5 separate regions of the Homo sapiens genome follow, and regions 1, 2, 4 and 5 are each linked to region 3. The links are contacts of gene promoters, found by promoter capture Hi-C in blood cells and fetal thymus (Javierre and others, 2016). All regions are on one chromosome and are shown on one strand. The core of a region is centred on a gene start or on the middle of the fragment in contact, and the rest is flanking DNA. Distances in the headings are between cores, read along the strand shown. Region 1 has its middle 81 kb from the start of MTPN. Region 2 has its middle 100 kb from the start of MTPN. Region 3 holds the start of FAM180A (family with sequence similarity 180 member A). Region 4 has its middle 46 kb from the start of MTPN. Region 5 has its middle 62 kb from the start of MTPN.

Evidence for each region. The method cuts DNA at HindIII sites, captures the fragments that hold promoters and counts their contacts. A CHiCAGO score of 5 or more calls a contact.
Region 1: a fragment that was not itself captured here is called in contact with the fragment with the promoter of FAM180A in region 3 in 1 of 17 cell types (total CD4 T cells); the score reaches 5.9 in total CD4 T cells.
Region 2: a contact is called between a fragment that was not itself captured here and the fragment with the promoter of FAM180A in region 3, in 1 of 17 cell types (total CD8 T cells). The highest score is 5.0, in total CD8 T cells.
Region 4: a fragment that was not itself captured here is called in contact with the fragment with the promoter of FAM180A in region 3 in 2 of 17 cell types (activated CD4 T cells and neutrophils); the score reaches 5.7 in activated CD4 T cells.
Region 5: a fragment that was not itself captured here is called in contact with the fragment with the promoter of FAM180A in region 3 in 1 of 17 cell types (neutrophils); the score reaches 5.1 in neutrophils.

Annotation. Positions count from the first base shown.
Region 1 is chr7:136,057,470-136,060,169 of GRCh38, forward strand. It overlaps a transcript of LOC105375523 not described here. Among named protein-coding and RNA genes, the nearest start is that of MTPN, 81 kb to the left of the region's middle. RefSeq lists an enhancer at 411-2,700. The HindIII fragment of the contact is 6,518 bases long and covers 1-2,700 here.
Region 2 is chr7:136,078,652-136,081,351 of GRCh38, forward strand. It overlaps a transcript of LOC105375523 not described here. Among named protein-coding and RNA genes, the nearest start is that of MTPN, 100 kb to the left of the region's middle. The HindIII fragment of the contact is 160 bases long and covers 1,197-1,356 here.
Region 3 is chr7:135,747,487-135,750,186 of GRCh38, forward strand. FAM180A (family with sequence similarity 180 member A) reads right to left here and starts at 1,327. Exons shown (of 4, transcript NM_205855.4): 1 at 1,019-1,327. The coding sequence starts at 1,094. The HindIII fragment of the contact is 5,471 bases long and covers 1-2,088 here.
Region 4 is chr7:136,022,474-136,025,173 of GRCh38, forward strand. It overlaps a transcript of LOC105375523 not described here. Among named protein-coding and RNA genes, the nearest start is that of MTPN, 46 kb to the left of the region's middle. The HindIII fragment of the contact is 384 bases long and covers 1,113-1,496 here.
Region 5 is chr7:136,038,424-136,041,123 of GRCh38, forward strand. It overlaps a transcript of LOC105375523 not described here. Among named protein-coding and RNA genes, the nearest start is that of MTPN, 62 kb to the left of the region's middle. The HindIII fragment of the contact is 4,729 bases long and covers 1-2,700 here.

The DNA.
Region 1 (2,700 bases), core at 99-2,598, 310 kb after region 3:
GCTCCTGATCTCAAGTGATCTGCCTGCCTTGACCTCCCAAAGTGCTAGGATTACAGGCATGAGCCACCGTGCCCAGCCAGATGTGTTCATAATTTTAATAAAACATGTTGTGCGCTATTCTTAACAACTTAACTTTACCTAACAACTTTACCTACGTTAACTAATTTGATTTTCAAACGTCCTTTTGTGGCTGCTACCATTAACTTCCCATTTTACAGAGGAAGAGACTGAGACACAGAGAGATGAAGTAATCCAAGATCACGTAATTGGGAAATGGCAGAGCGTGGATTTGGACCCAGGTTGTCTAGTTCCATGGTCATGCTCTTGACCACTGCACTATTCTATTGTTCATGAATGTTATTTCTTTTAGGAATGATATATGCTACTTGTTATGCCTGTACCTTCATTTAAAAGCTGTTTGTGGTGCTAGGATAGGGAAACCATTGTCCCAGTTTGCCTGCAACTGAGGGGTTGCCTGGAATGCAAGACTTTTAGTGCCCTAGTTGGGACAGTCCCAGGCAAACTAGTATTGTTTGGTGACCTTATGCTAGGAGTATGATTGTGATGAGAATAACAACAAGGCCACCCTGAGAGAATTTATAGTCTGGTGCCAAATAAAATTATAAATTTAAACATGAATCTGAAATAAAAGACGTGGTCTATGAGGGCAGGTAACAGAGGGGCCATGGGTCAGGTGGGGAATGCCTCCTATTGTAACAGAAGCAGAAGGATTCATCGTGTTTATTATGTCTATCTCCTGATCCAAGAGGTGACAGGACAGGTATGAGTTAATTTTTCCCTTTGGAGTGATTTATATTCTTACCACATCTTAAAACCAGAGAAGAGTAACCAATAATCAAAACTTATACCACTAATGCCTCATTTATCTCAAAGATGCATTTATATTACTGTTTAAGCCGATGTGTTGCACTTTTAAATAATTATGCACAGTGCATGTGTATTTTTTAATCCTGCTTTGGTTTTTATAATTTACAGCTGCAGAGAACTCCAGGAGCTGTTTTTAAAGAAGATTAAGGTACTGCATCAAGAAGCCTCCATTTCTAATCAGCAAAATCCATTGCAGCCATAGAATTAAAATTAAATATCATTACATGTTTCCCAAGAAGTTTAGGAGAATCTACAGGTTAAAAAAAAAACAGAAAGATTAAATGCAGCAGGAATGTGGTATGTGAGTAAGAATTCCAAGGGAGAATCTCTTGTGGATTTCTCTGATTGGAAACAGACCTGGGGACCTCTAAGGGAAGGATGGAAGCTCTGTCAAAAGGCAGCCCTCTTTCAGCTCCTATTCATTTTCAAGACAGCATTGGTTAATCATGTGTAACTGAGAGAAAATGGAACTGGTAGGCACTTTAATTGCAGGTCAAGTGAGGTGAACAATAAACAAAAAAATCAACTTGGGCTCATATTTTAGATTAGTGGCTAGATTAGAAGGAAAAGTCTTAGCTTCAAGGAATTAATAGAGAAACAAGAGGTCTTTTCAGCTGGTTTGGAGAAGATCTTTTAACACAAACCAAAGAAGCAGCTCTGTGTTAAAGATCTAGCCCATCCTTTCAACAGGAGAGGGTTCTGGTGCAGGAGTAGTGAAGGGTAGTAGGTAGGAGGCCAGATCTGGCCTGTCTTGGTGTGAGCCTCTGTGTTGACACTACCCAGCCAGGTAACAACTGTCCTTAATGCCAGGTGTTGCTGGATGATTAAATGGTAGATGGAAAATGCCATATAAGGGATACAAAGGGCCTGCCCAGCAAGTCTGTGGGGAGACTGACCAGTTATCAAGGTGGGACTTTACAAGACACACAGTCTGCAGAACAAGGAAGACACGCAAGTGGCCCTGGTGAAGTCGGGTGTGGGGAGCCATAATGAAGACTTACTAATGGGGCATGTCCACAGTGATAAGAGCAGTAGCTTATGATTCTATGCTTTTGTTTCATCCATATCTTTAATGAGTGGCTTTAGGGGTACTGGAAAGTGCTTGTTGAAGGCAGCCTCATAGAAAATAGATAGTCTAGGCAATTCAACGAATCGGTAAGGCAATTTTGATGAATCAATAGGAGTGAATTTGGCAACTTTTTATGCATGGTTTTGCATTTTCTGTTTTTCCACATTTTACAGCTTTACTCAATTTCTTTCTTGTCTGACCTGTTATAATGGAATATTTTAAACTGTTTGTTATATTTATATGATGGAACACAGTGGGGATCATTAAAAGGGATGTTTTGTGATACATATTACACAAACCAATAGATCCATCCATTCATTCATTCATTCATTCATCTACAATCATTTGTTGAGGGTCTACTATGTGCTCGACACTATTGAGACATGAGACACAGCAGCGAACAAGGCCTCAATAAACAAGAAGGAAAGAGGACAATATGATAGAGTTTTAAGTAGGGGGTTGAGGGAAGCATTATTTTAGATTGGGTGATCAGGAAAGGTATCTCTGAGAAAGTGATGTTTGAGCAAAGGCCTACAGGATGAGAAGGACCCAGGCATGCAAAGAGCTGGGGGGATGTATTTCTTTGCGGAAGTAGCAAATAAGTGCCAAGGTCCGAGGGAGGAAAACTGGCAAGACAGATGAACAGAAAGCAGTCAGGTGTGGCTGGAGTATTAATGTTCAAAGGGCAGAGGGATATGAGATTTTGTTGGAGAGGTAGGCAGGGCATGTAGGAGTTTGTAAGC
Region 2 (2,700 bases), core at 27-2,526, 330 kb after region 3:
TAGCTTATTTGCTTATTTAAGTATATGTTTTACAGCTGGAATATACTAAAAGGTTATGTTATCTCATGGAGGTCTTACTAAGATGTTTTATGGCTCAGATGAACATTTGGCTATCTTGTTTTAAATTTTTTCTAAGCTAAAATTCGTATGGCTATTAAACTATGGCAGAAACATTTGGTGTCATGGTTGTCTAACGGCCTTTATGTTAACATGAACAGCTAATCTTTTTCTGAGAAAGAACTTGGCTCTGGCTGGGGGTTATCCCTTGGCCTGTCTCTGCAGGGAGGCGACAAAACTTATTTTCAGGCATATGTCATTTTTCAGTCTCTTCGTTCTAATTTCTTACCCAGTTTAGATGAGCCAAATCATACAGCTGTGCACTTCACAGGAACATAGAATACCTGCTTTCCAAATGCTTTTAGGGAATATAAACCCAGTTTGTGGCTTTATCATAACAATCAAATCTATATTTATGAAGGATTGTTTAAAAATTTGCAGTTTATGGGTTCCTTTAGATATTATGAAGTCTGTATCTTGACCGCTGAAAGCTATAGTCTTATATCACATTGTTTTGACTTCTATAGACTTGCTTTTGGTAAATTATATTTTAACTTTATCCTTTGTTTACCTTGAAGAATATTATGCAAAAGAATTCTGTGAATCCTGCCAATAATAATGATAATAATAATGCTGTTGATAATTTATGTATTCATTATTCAATAAATATGTATTGAACAATTTCTACATGCAAGATTATCTTCTAAGCCCTGGAATACCAATGAATGAGATAGGCAAAAATCTCTGTGTTTATTCTATTTATATTTAAGTTAGTGGGGAGAAGACAGATTACAAAAAGGGAAAGAAAATGAGAGTTGATGATAAGTGCTACAGGAAAAAATAAAGCAAGGGAGGGAGTTGGGGTGTTGCAATTTTAAATAGGCTGGCCAGTGAAGGTGTCCTGATGATACCTAGTATGACACACATGCTTTTGCTTAGTATTTTACATGAGGGAGTTCATTATGTAATCCCGTGAAGTGTTCATTATATTACAAGCTGTCCTCTTTATGAGGACTCATGGGAGAACTTGCACTTCGATGTTAGAACTAGCAGTAGTCGGGCTTCTCTTGAGTGACTGGTTTCTTTTTATCTTCTGGGCACCAAGAATCATGTAACAGATCACGGTTGCCTCTTTGTTAAGCTTATAAGGAAACTTAACACTTTGGCATGAACTGGGAGTACTGACCTTACTCTTGGCTTTACCTTACCTTTTCAATCTCATTTTAGCCTTTGTCCCAATTGACTCACCTACTTACTTGACATTTTATTTTATGCTATGTTGTTATATTTACTTTGGTAAGCTTCCTTAAATATTTTTTGAACAAAGTAAGGCATGAATAGATATAAACGCCCACATAATTACATGCACACACAATACACACACACATACATACATACATCATTATGTGACAATATAGTACATCTTATTTCAGTGTACCTTGAACCTGGAGTTCTTATCTGAAAAAGTTTTTTTATGCTTCATGGTGTTCCTTTATAAGTGCTCCATAAATATTTATGGAATAACAGTTTTAGTAGTGGTTATAATTTAAATGAGAAAGATACTCATGGTATCTTAAGAGTTTTTCCATTTGAATATCAAACGAACTATTGCTGAAGTTTAATTTTTAAAATCATTATATGTAAAATATAAGCTCTTTAATATAAAGATGTGGGGAAATTTGAAATGTAATATGTAATTATGACTCTTCTAAACCTCTTTCTAAAAGTTTTCAATAACTAAGTTTTAATAATTCTGGATAACAGAATCCTTTGAAACCTATCACCCTCCAGGGAAATTTGGTTACACATAAAAATTGCATAATTGTATTAAAGAAGTTAGCGACACACCAAAGCCCATCCATCAACCAACCTTAGGTTATGAACCCCTGCTGTATGTTTTTCTTTTAAAATAATATATGCTCTTAAAATTTTAATAACAAAAAGAAAAAAAGCAGAAAAATTACCTATAACCCCAGCACCATGGGATAGCTATTTTTAATCTTTTTATTTTCATTTAAAAAATTTGCTGCATTTACATCAAAAGATTTTGCATCCTTTTTTTTTGGCAAAACAATATATAGTAAGTAGTTCCCAATGAAATAAAAAATTCTTTATAAACATCATTTTTAAAGATTTATATAATATTTCAGTGTATAAATATACTGTAATGTGCTTAAACATTTTCTAATGTCTGTTTAGGTCTTCCCTTGCCCTTCCATTATTTGCCACAAAGTTGCTATGAACATCTTAGAGACAAATCTTTGTTGATATGTTAAGAAATTCCCAGGAATACCTAGAAGAATTACTAGGTGCAAATGTATATTCTAACTAAAGTCAATGATATGCAAATTATTTTTCAGAAAGAGTGTTCCAACCAATTGTGCTGGTACCAGCAGTTTGTGAAAGTATTTAAACTATCTATTTTACCTCATTCTTGCCAGAATTGAGTAGTACCATTAAAAACAGAAATAATCAAAGAAGCAAAAACTTATTTGATAGGTAAAAAATGGGGCCATTTTGATTTTAATCTGCATTTCTTTGATTACTAATGAGGTTTACTTCTAAAACTATGTTTTCAAGAAAAACTTAAAAAATTTGCCTTTTCTCTTTAGCGAGTGATCATATGTTTGGTTCATTAATGTG
Region 3 (2,700 bases), core at 77-2,576:
ACCCAGCATAAGTACAGTAGCTTTTGCCTCCCTCCCATTTCAGATCCTTCTCTCGCGCTGCTCTATCCCCACTCCGGCCACTCCTTCCTTCCCTGACACTGTCCTTGAGAAGCAAGCAGGAGGCGCATCCATGCCACCATGCCAGTTGCCTTCCAATTTTGCATCTCTAGAAACACCTACTGGCCTGACTTGAAGGAGCCTGTTCTTCTTGCGGTTCTTTCTAGGAGAGTGAACTCAGTTGACTTTAGGCAGTGGAAAGATTTCCGTTCATATTGGTGAAGAGTGGGCAGTGCCGTGGGTCCCTCCTTTCCTAACAGTGATAAACTCTGGCTCGAGGTGCTCCCAGTGTCTACCAAGCAGAGCCACTCCCAGGGAAATGGAGAAAAGATGCCATCCAGCTAGGAGGAACTACATCCTGAGGGGGAGGAAGTCAGTGATAAGAGAACAGCCTTTGCTGGGGCCCCTTCCTTTGTGAGGAGGTGGCGGAGCTGGTGGGTGCAGTGGAGGTTGAAGGGTTGCTCTCCTCACCTGCCCACCTCTGGCTGCAGAGATGCATCCCCTCCCGGTGAGGAGGCAACGTTCTGCAGAGCTTCTGCTCTGGTTCCCCCAGGGAGCAGGCCTTTGGCATCCCAGTGCCCATCACTCCATCATTTTAGCAGCAGGTCTCAGCACCTGCTCTCCAGACGGTCTGGCCCAACTGCTGCAGGTGGTGGGGGCAGTCGAAGAAATGAGTTCTACTTTCTATGAAGCAGAAATGAGTTCTCTCTGGGATGCCAGAAAGGGGTACTCTCTGGGTTCTCCACCTCAACCTAATTCCCTCAGGAGCTTTGATTTTTTCCAGTGTCATTTCCCCATCACCCTCTAAGAAGGGGGAACACGTCAAGAAGCATCAAGGAATTGACAGAGATTAGACAAAAGGAGAGTGCGGGGCTTCTAATGTCCTTCCCTCCAAATTTTGAATTGCATTGAAGAAAGTATAATGAGCATCAAACAAACAAATGAATAAAAAGCAACTCACCCCTGCTCCACCTGTGGCACATAGAAGCCTCAGCATTGTAATACAACAGCAGAAGCAGCAACATCTTCCAATGCATCTTGTCCTTCAAAAGGTGAAAAATCGACCCTCAAGCCCAGTGGAACCCCAGTAGCTGCAGGTATGCCCGTGCCGTTCTTCCCAGTGAGATGATGGAGTGCTTCCCTCCCTTCCTTTTGCAGACGTGCAGAAATGCCTACTCTGCCTCAGAAGGCTGGAGGCTGAAGGCTGCGTCCTGGGTGGGACAGGAGTCGGTACCTCTCTTCATTTGACGCTCTCTGGGATTGGGGAACTGGCCTTCCACAGAGAGACTCTGTTTTTGAGCACATCTGGAGTGACTCACGGGGCATGTGATCTCCTTGGCAGTGGGGCGGATAAATATAATTTCTGTACTTGAGTTCCATGTGTTGGATGCACCCACTGGAATTTTTCTTTAACAAACAGACCCGCGGAACTTGTTAGAGAGCCCGGCGAAGAGTTGGCTGCTCTCCCCGTCCACACATACGATACCAGAGCCAGGGGCGAGGGCTGGAGGCAGAGTTGGGAGCCTGCCTGGCAGACACCAGGGCTGGTTGAGCCTAAGTTGCCTTCAGGACAGCAAAATCATTGTGGTGCCTGGGCTGAGTGTCACTGTTGCCTGGCCCTGGAGCTAGACTAGGACATTGGCGCCTAGAGCCTGTGTCTGGTCTGCCCAGGTTCTGGGTGGGTGGGGAGTTGGCAGGTTGTGACCGAGCCGAAGTGGAGAGGTGACATGGTGCATCGGTATTGTCTGTGTGAACGTGCGTAGGTAATGATCCAGGAGCCCACGGGGACCCCCAACTCACATTGGTGATGCTCCCATTTCTGGGCTGTGCCTAGACCTGGGGCCAAGCCCCACAACTCACATTGGTGATGCTCCCATTTCTGGGCTGTGCCTAGACCTGGGGCCAAGCCACTTTGATTTTCCCAAGCAAAATGGGAGTGTTTTTCCATAGTCGTTGTAATATACTGCCATAGACACCTTAATTCTTTCCCAATCACTTCCTCAACTTCTCTGAAATGATAGGGAATGCTAAAGCTTGAAGGACACTTAAAGATTATGTCATCCTGTGGGTTTTCCAGTTTGTGGAGGTGGTGCCCAGGGTGAATGGGCTCCCCAAGAGGGCTCCTCAAAGCTCTACTCTACTGCAAAAGCTCCTCTTTTATCTGCTATAAGAAGTTGTTTGGGAGCCGGGCATGGTGGTTCACGCCTGTAATCCCAACACTTTGGGAGGCCGAAGTGGGGGAATTGCTTGAGGCCAGAAGTTCAAGACCAACCTAGAGAAAATAGACCCTGTCTCTACAAAAAATTAAAAAATTAGCTGGGCGTGGTGGCATGTGCCTGTAGTCCTAGTCACTCAGGTGGCTGAGGCAGAAGGATTGTTTAGGCCCAGGAGTTCAAGGCTGCAGTGAGCTATGATCACAACACTCTACTCCAGCCTGGGTGACAGAGTAAGAACTTTCCTCTTAAAAAAATTAAAAAAAAAACAACCAGTTTTTTTGGGGGAAAAAATACTAGACTACAACATTTGAAAACCAGTACGCTCACTAATATTAATAATAGCTATTAGGTGCTTAATTTGCTTCAGACAGCGTGCTAGGTGCCCTCCTTGCATTAACTGATTTAATGCATCCACCGAACTAGGAGG
Region 4 (2,700 bases), core at 55-2,554, 270 kb after region 3:
TCAAATACAGCCTTAATGCAAGTCTCCATTCCATCCAGATGGCCTCTAAGCCCTTCTTATTTAGAAATTTTGAAGCTGTCACTTTCTGCTCTATTTTAAAAGTAGAAAAATGTTGAGCTCTCTTTATATTTATTTGCATAGAGTTTATCTGCTCCAGACAACTCCATGGAATGTGCTTCCTCCCTGACAGTTTGTTTCCCACTGTTTCCTCACAGCCTAGCATGTAAAATAGGTGCTCACTAAATTACAATGAATGAATATATAACAGAATATAAATAAGGAGCACATGTAAATAAGAAAGCGATATGTATTGGAGAAGTAACATTTATTGGCTGCCTCTTTGCATACTTGTAGTAACTTATTTGAGCCTTTGAACAATGCTGTGAAATAGATGTGATTGTCCTATTTGGTAAATGAGTGAATGGAGACTTGAAGAATTTATAAAACGTGTTTCTGTTCTTACATCTGGTAAGTGTGATAAATGTGGGTCAAATTTGACCAATGCCAAAATCCACAATCCTCTAACTGCTGAGTTCTCCTTGAACAGCAGGGATGATGACATAAGGAGGGGGCAGAGCTAGACTCCATTCTAAGGAGGCTCCAAGGGGGAACTCAAAAGTCAACTGGGATTCTGGGGAAAAATAGAACTGAATTTTCCATTCATTGTTAAATAAAAAATTAGGGTCTGTTTGAAGTGATTTCAATGTTCCCAGTGAGTTAGTAACACAGATAAACATACTTAGCAGGACCTGGGCTGTGGTAGGGACTCAATAAATGTTTATAGCACAAATGAATGAAAAAAAATGAATGAAAGAACAGGGTAAGTCAACTAGAGGGCAGCTGGTTTCAACATAGAAGCCATGCCGATTACCATGACTAGCACCAGGGAAATGGAAAAAGTTAACAGGGAGATGAGCATAAAGATGGTGAATTGGAGCAGTCTCTGGGTCTATAAGTAAATGAGAAACCAGGCAAACACATTGAAAACTCACATATAAAGGTTTTTGTGTCTTTTATTGAGTTCTGTAAGCAATCATAATGGGTTTCTTCTTGAGTTCTTTAAATGATCTATTAAAAAAAAAACCCAGCCACAGCATTTGGAAAGTCAACAAAGCTTTACAGGATGGGCTCTCCAGAATCAGGAAAGTAAATACTATGAGCCTCTTGGTACCCTGGGTGAGTTACCACACTCAGGTTGCAAATTATTCCTCCAGCTGTAATTACAACATTAATTGTGAGCTTTATTTATTTAGTGTTACTCATGAGGCAAGAGGTTTGCTATTCTGCATGGTTGGTGAAGGGGCAATTCTGGACCACAGTGGGGAGTGGCTGGTGGTGTCTGGGTCTGGGATGCCGTCTTCTATCTGCCTTCAGCTGTGGCCAGTGTTGGGGAGGCAAATTTCTACTTCCTTCCTCTTAGGGTCTGGCTGGGCCCAAGAATTAAGTTGACATAAGCTAGATTAATAGACGAAAAGTACACACATTTATTTTATACAAGCTTTATGTGGCACAGGAGACCTCATAAGGAAATGAAGACCCAAAGGAGCAGTTAGAGCCCATCGCTTACATACTGAATTGGACAAAGAAAAGCAAGTTGTGAAAATGTGATAAGTAAAGGGGCTTGGGCTAGGTTAGCTAATTGGGTAGAGACGTGACCAGGAAAATAAGAGTTAGTTTAACAAGGTTTGCTTGTATAAACTTCCCTAGGCTTCAACTTTCTATTCTTGATAAGATTGTTGCTTTCTTTCTGGTATAGGGAGGACCTCCTTCATGTGGGAATTTTGTCTCTTGCTTTTAAGAAACAGAATGGAGATTAGAGTGATCTTTTTGTACTTACTATTTTTTTAAGTGCCTTTATTTCAAAATAGTCAATATGCTAGAGCAGCGTATTTTGGGGTGTCATAGTCTTAACTCCTTCACTAGAATAAGGCCTTGCTCACTAAATGATGATGTGTTAGGATGAGGAAGCATCACTGTTACCTGACAAATAAGAAGAAATAAGCTCATGGAGAATACTAATGTTCCTAAGGAAAGCTACAGTGCTTGGAGTTGTCTTCTAACACTTTCTGAGGCTACACCTTGGGGTCCCAAACACCACTTCTTGGTACCATTCCTAGAGGCAGAATCCTAAATTGAAAGGACCACTGACCTTAAGTGATAAGACACTTTTTATATCATTTTGCTCTGTCCCCTTCCCTGTGAAAGCAATGGAGAGGGTAGTGCTGTCCTGTAACAGCTCAGGCAGTGGCTCAACAGTGGTCTGCTTTGGTCAATTGGTTTAGGAGAAGCCAGTGTCACTTCAGACCTGAGGGAAGGAACTGGGCTCCTCATGAACCCTAACTGCAAGTTGTTTTCCCACTTATTACTATTATTAGAAATGCTTCCATGAATTTAAAGATGGATGTGAAAACAAAGTACATGTGAATAGCGATTTACCCAAGTTGTACCAGGAATGATATTGACATGTACAGTAGTTACTGTGGTAGCCTTGTCCACATTTCTTGGAAAAACAGCCCTAGCTCAGTTAATTGAATAACAGCAAAGCATATTCATTTATGTTACTAATGTTATAGTTTATCTTATTAATTAATCTTAATGACTGTCTATTACACAATTAATTAAGACTCATTTGTATATACTGATTAAACAAACACACGGGACTTGGCATCAGATAGGATGGGCTCATATTCTGGCTCTATG
Region 5 (2,700 bases), core at 180-2,679, 290 kb after region 3:
AATCACTGAGTAGATTTTCTTTGTCTATCAATTTTCTATCTAGTAATAGAAGCAGAGAGGATGTATGCATATATATATATGTATATATATATATGTGTATATATATATATATATATATATATATATCTCTTCATCTTAAGGAATTGACTCATGTGATTGTGGAGGGCCAGAAAGTCCAAAATCTGCCGGGCAGGCCAGCGGGCTGAAGAACCAGGAACAAGTTGATACTGCTGCTTAAGCCTGAAGGCAGTCTGCTGGCATAATTCCCTCTTTCTTGGGGGAGATCAGTTTTTTTCTCCTTAGGCCTTTGACTGATTGGATGAGGTTCACCCACATTATGGAGGATAATCTACTTTATTCAAAGTCTACTGATGTAAATGTCAACCTCATTTAAAAAATACCTCACAGAAACGTCTAGAATACTGTTGGGCCACATATTTGAGTACCTGAGTTGTTGCCAGTAAAAATGACAATAAAATGAACTATCGCATACCCCAACTTCATTTTGGAGAACTACTCTCCTTAGTCCATGTATATCAGGTGGAGCTGACCTCATTTTTCTGACTCCAAGGGTGAGAATGTGACATAGGCCCATCATAGCATCAAAGTATCCTGGCTAAAGAGATTGCTTCAAGGCTGGCCATATGACCAAACCCAGATCAATGAGAGCCAGTCCTGGGATTTTTGCCAGAACTACCAGGACTGAGCCATTGTATCATTCTTAGAGTTTGAAAGCTAAGGGCCTGGAAGTCTGGAGCTGCAGGAGGTCATCTTTGTTCCCATATGGGGTAAGTCTGCCGGAAAGTTAAGCCAATCCAGGGAAAAGAAAGCAGGAGATGGAGAGATGAGACATGGAGAACAAGAGACAATTTCTTGCGGATATTATATAAATGTTATTGAAAACCTGAATCTAGCTATCTTGATCCATGTTTTTAAAAGCTAAGTAAGCTAATACATTCTTCTTTCTGCTTAAACTAATTTGAGTTTCTATCACTTGCAACTGAAATAATTCTGATGAAGATGCAATATGCTGGATGTTCTAGGTAGTTCCCAGAGGCAGCCGCTTTCAATAACTTTAGCTGATTCTTTTGATGTTTTTCTCCATGTATCTAACAATATGCCATTACTGCTGTTTTGTGATTGATTTCAGTCAGTAGTTGCTGACTTCCTGTTATGGTGAGTGAGGATTCCTTCCTCCTTCTCCATTTTATAATTTTTTCTAAATGCTTCAACATATCTGTCAGCCACTCAGAAAAAAATGATGTAAACATTCAAAATCATCAGTTGCACTCTCTGCCACCCCTACACCCTTGTGCCATAGTAACCATTTGCTGCTCTGAGCTGGCCCTGCTGCCCTCCGGACTTGGTGCACAGCCGTTGTTCAGGGGTCACTTCCTTTCACTGATGACTTGCGTAGGAAAACATAGGAATGATGACCTGTGTGTTTTGGATTCCCAGTCTTCCTCTCTTGATTTTTCTCCCTCAATTTATTAAAGCATGTACTCCAGGAGTGTCCTTAGAAAGCACTCATGGGAAGTAATGTTTTTTAGTCCTTGCTTCCTCATGTGTGTTATTATTAGACTTCTACACAAGCACACCCTGTTTGTCTAGTGGAAGCATTCTAGGTTGAAAATAACTGTCTAGCAGAATTTTACAAGCATTGCTCCACTTTCTTCTATACCCAGTGTTGCTTTTGAGAAAAGTCAGATGCTACTCTGACAAATGCAATTATGACGTTCTCTTCATACCTATTATTCCCTAACTCCATGATTATGCAATTTGGAGGTTTAACAAAAAATGATTGTGGCAGGTGTTTGCTGGGCCTTTTAAGTATTGAGATCACGCCCTTAAATTTGCAAAATTGCTTCTAGTATCTATTATAATTTCTACTCATCTAGTTCTTTGTTCCTTTTTAGAACTCCAGCAGTCAGCTGTTGGTCCCCTGTATTTTCTCTCCCGTTTCCTAACTCTTTGCCTTTTGATTCTACTTTTTGGGAGATTTCTTTGACATTATTCTCCATTCCTTTTATTAAGTATTTCATCCTAGTTGTCATGGTTTTAAGTTCTAAGAGCTTCTGCTTGTTGTATGATTTTAAAAATATCAATTTTTATTTTACAAATGCATTATCTAAGCTCTCTGATATTAATTGCAATTTTTTTTGGTTTGTTTTGAGTGTTACCTAATTGTTTACCTTTCTTCTAAGATCCTTTTCTTTTTTGGCTATTGCTTTTGAATTCACCTTTTCATGTTGAAGTCTTTCTTTTCAAGCATTTATGATCTTGAGTTGTCTGTTCATATATGAGTGAAGCTCTAGATTGAAAGCTGATTGGAACATCTGTGTGTGTGTGGGGGGGCGGTGGGGTGGGGGTGAGTGGGGAGGTTGTTGATGGTGGGCTTTACTACAAAGCAGACCATCTGGCCTCTTCATCAAGAGACTCCCTCTCCCCCCACCAAATGTAAATATGCCAGTTGTCTTTCTGGGGTGCTAGGGTGGTTTGATTTTTCTTTTTCTCTTTTTTTCTTTTCTTTTTTTTTTTTTTTTTTTGAGATGGAGTCTTGCTCTGTTGCCCAGGCCAGAATGCAGTGGCACGATCTTGGCTCACTGCAACCTCTGCCTCTGGGGTTCAAGTGATTCTCCTGTCTCAGCCTCCTGAGTAGCTGGGATTACAGGCGTGCCCCACCACGCCTGGCTAATTTTT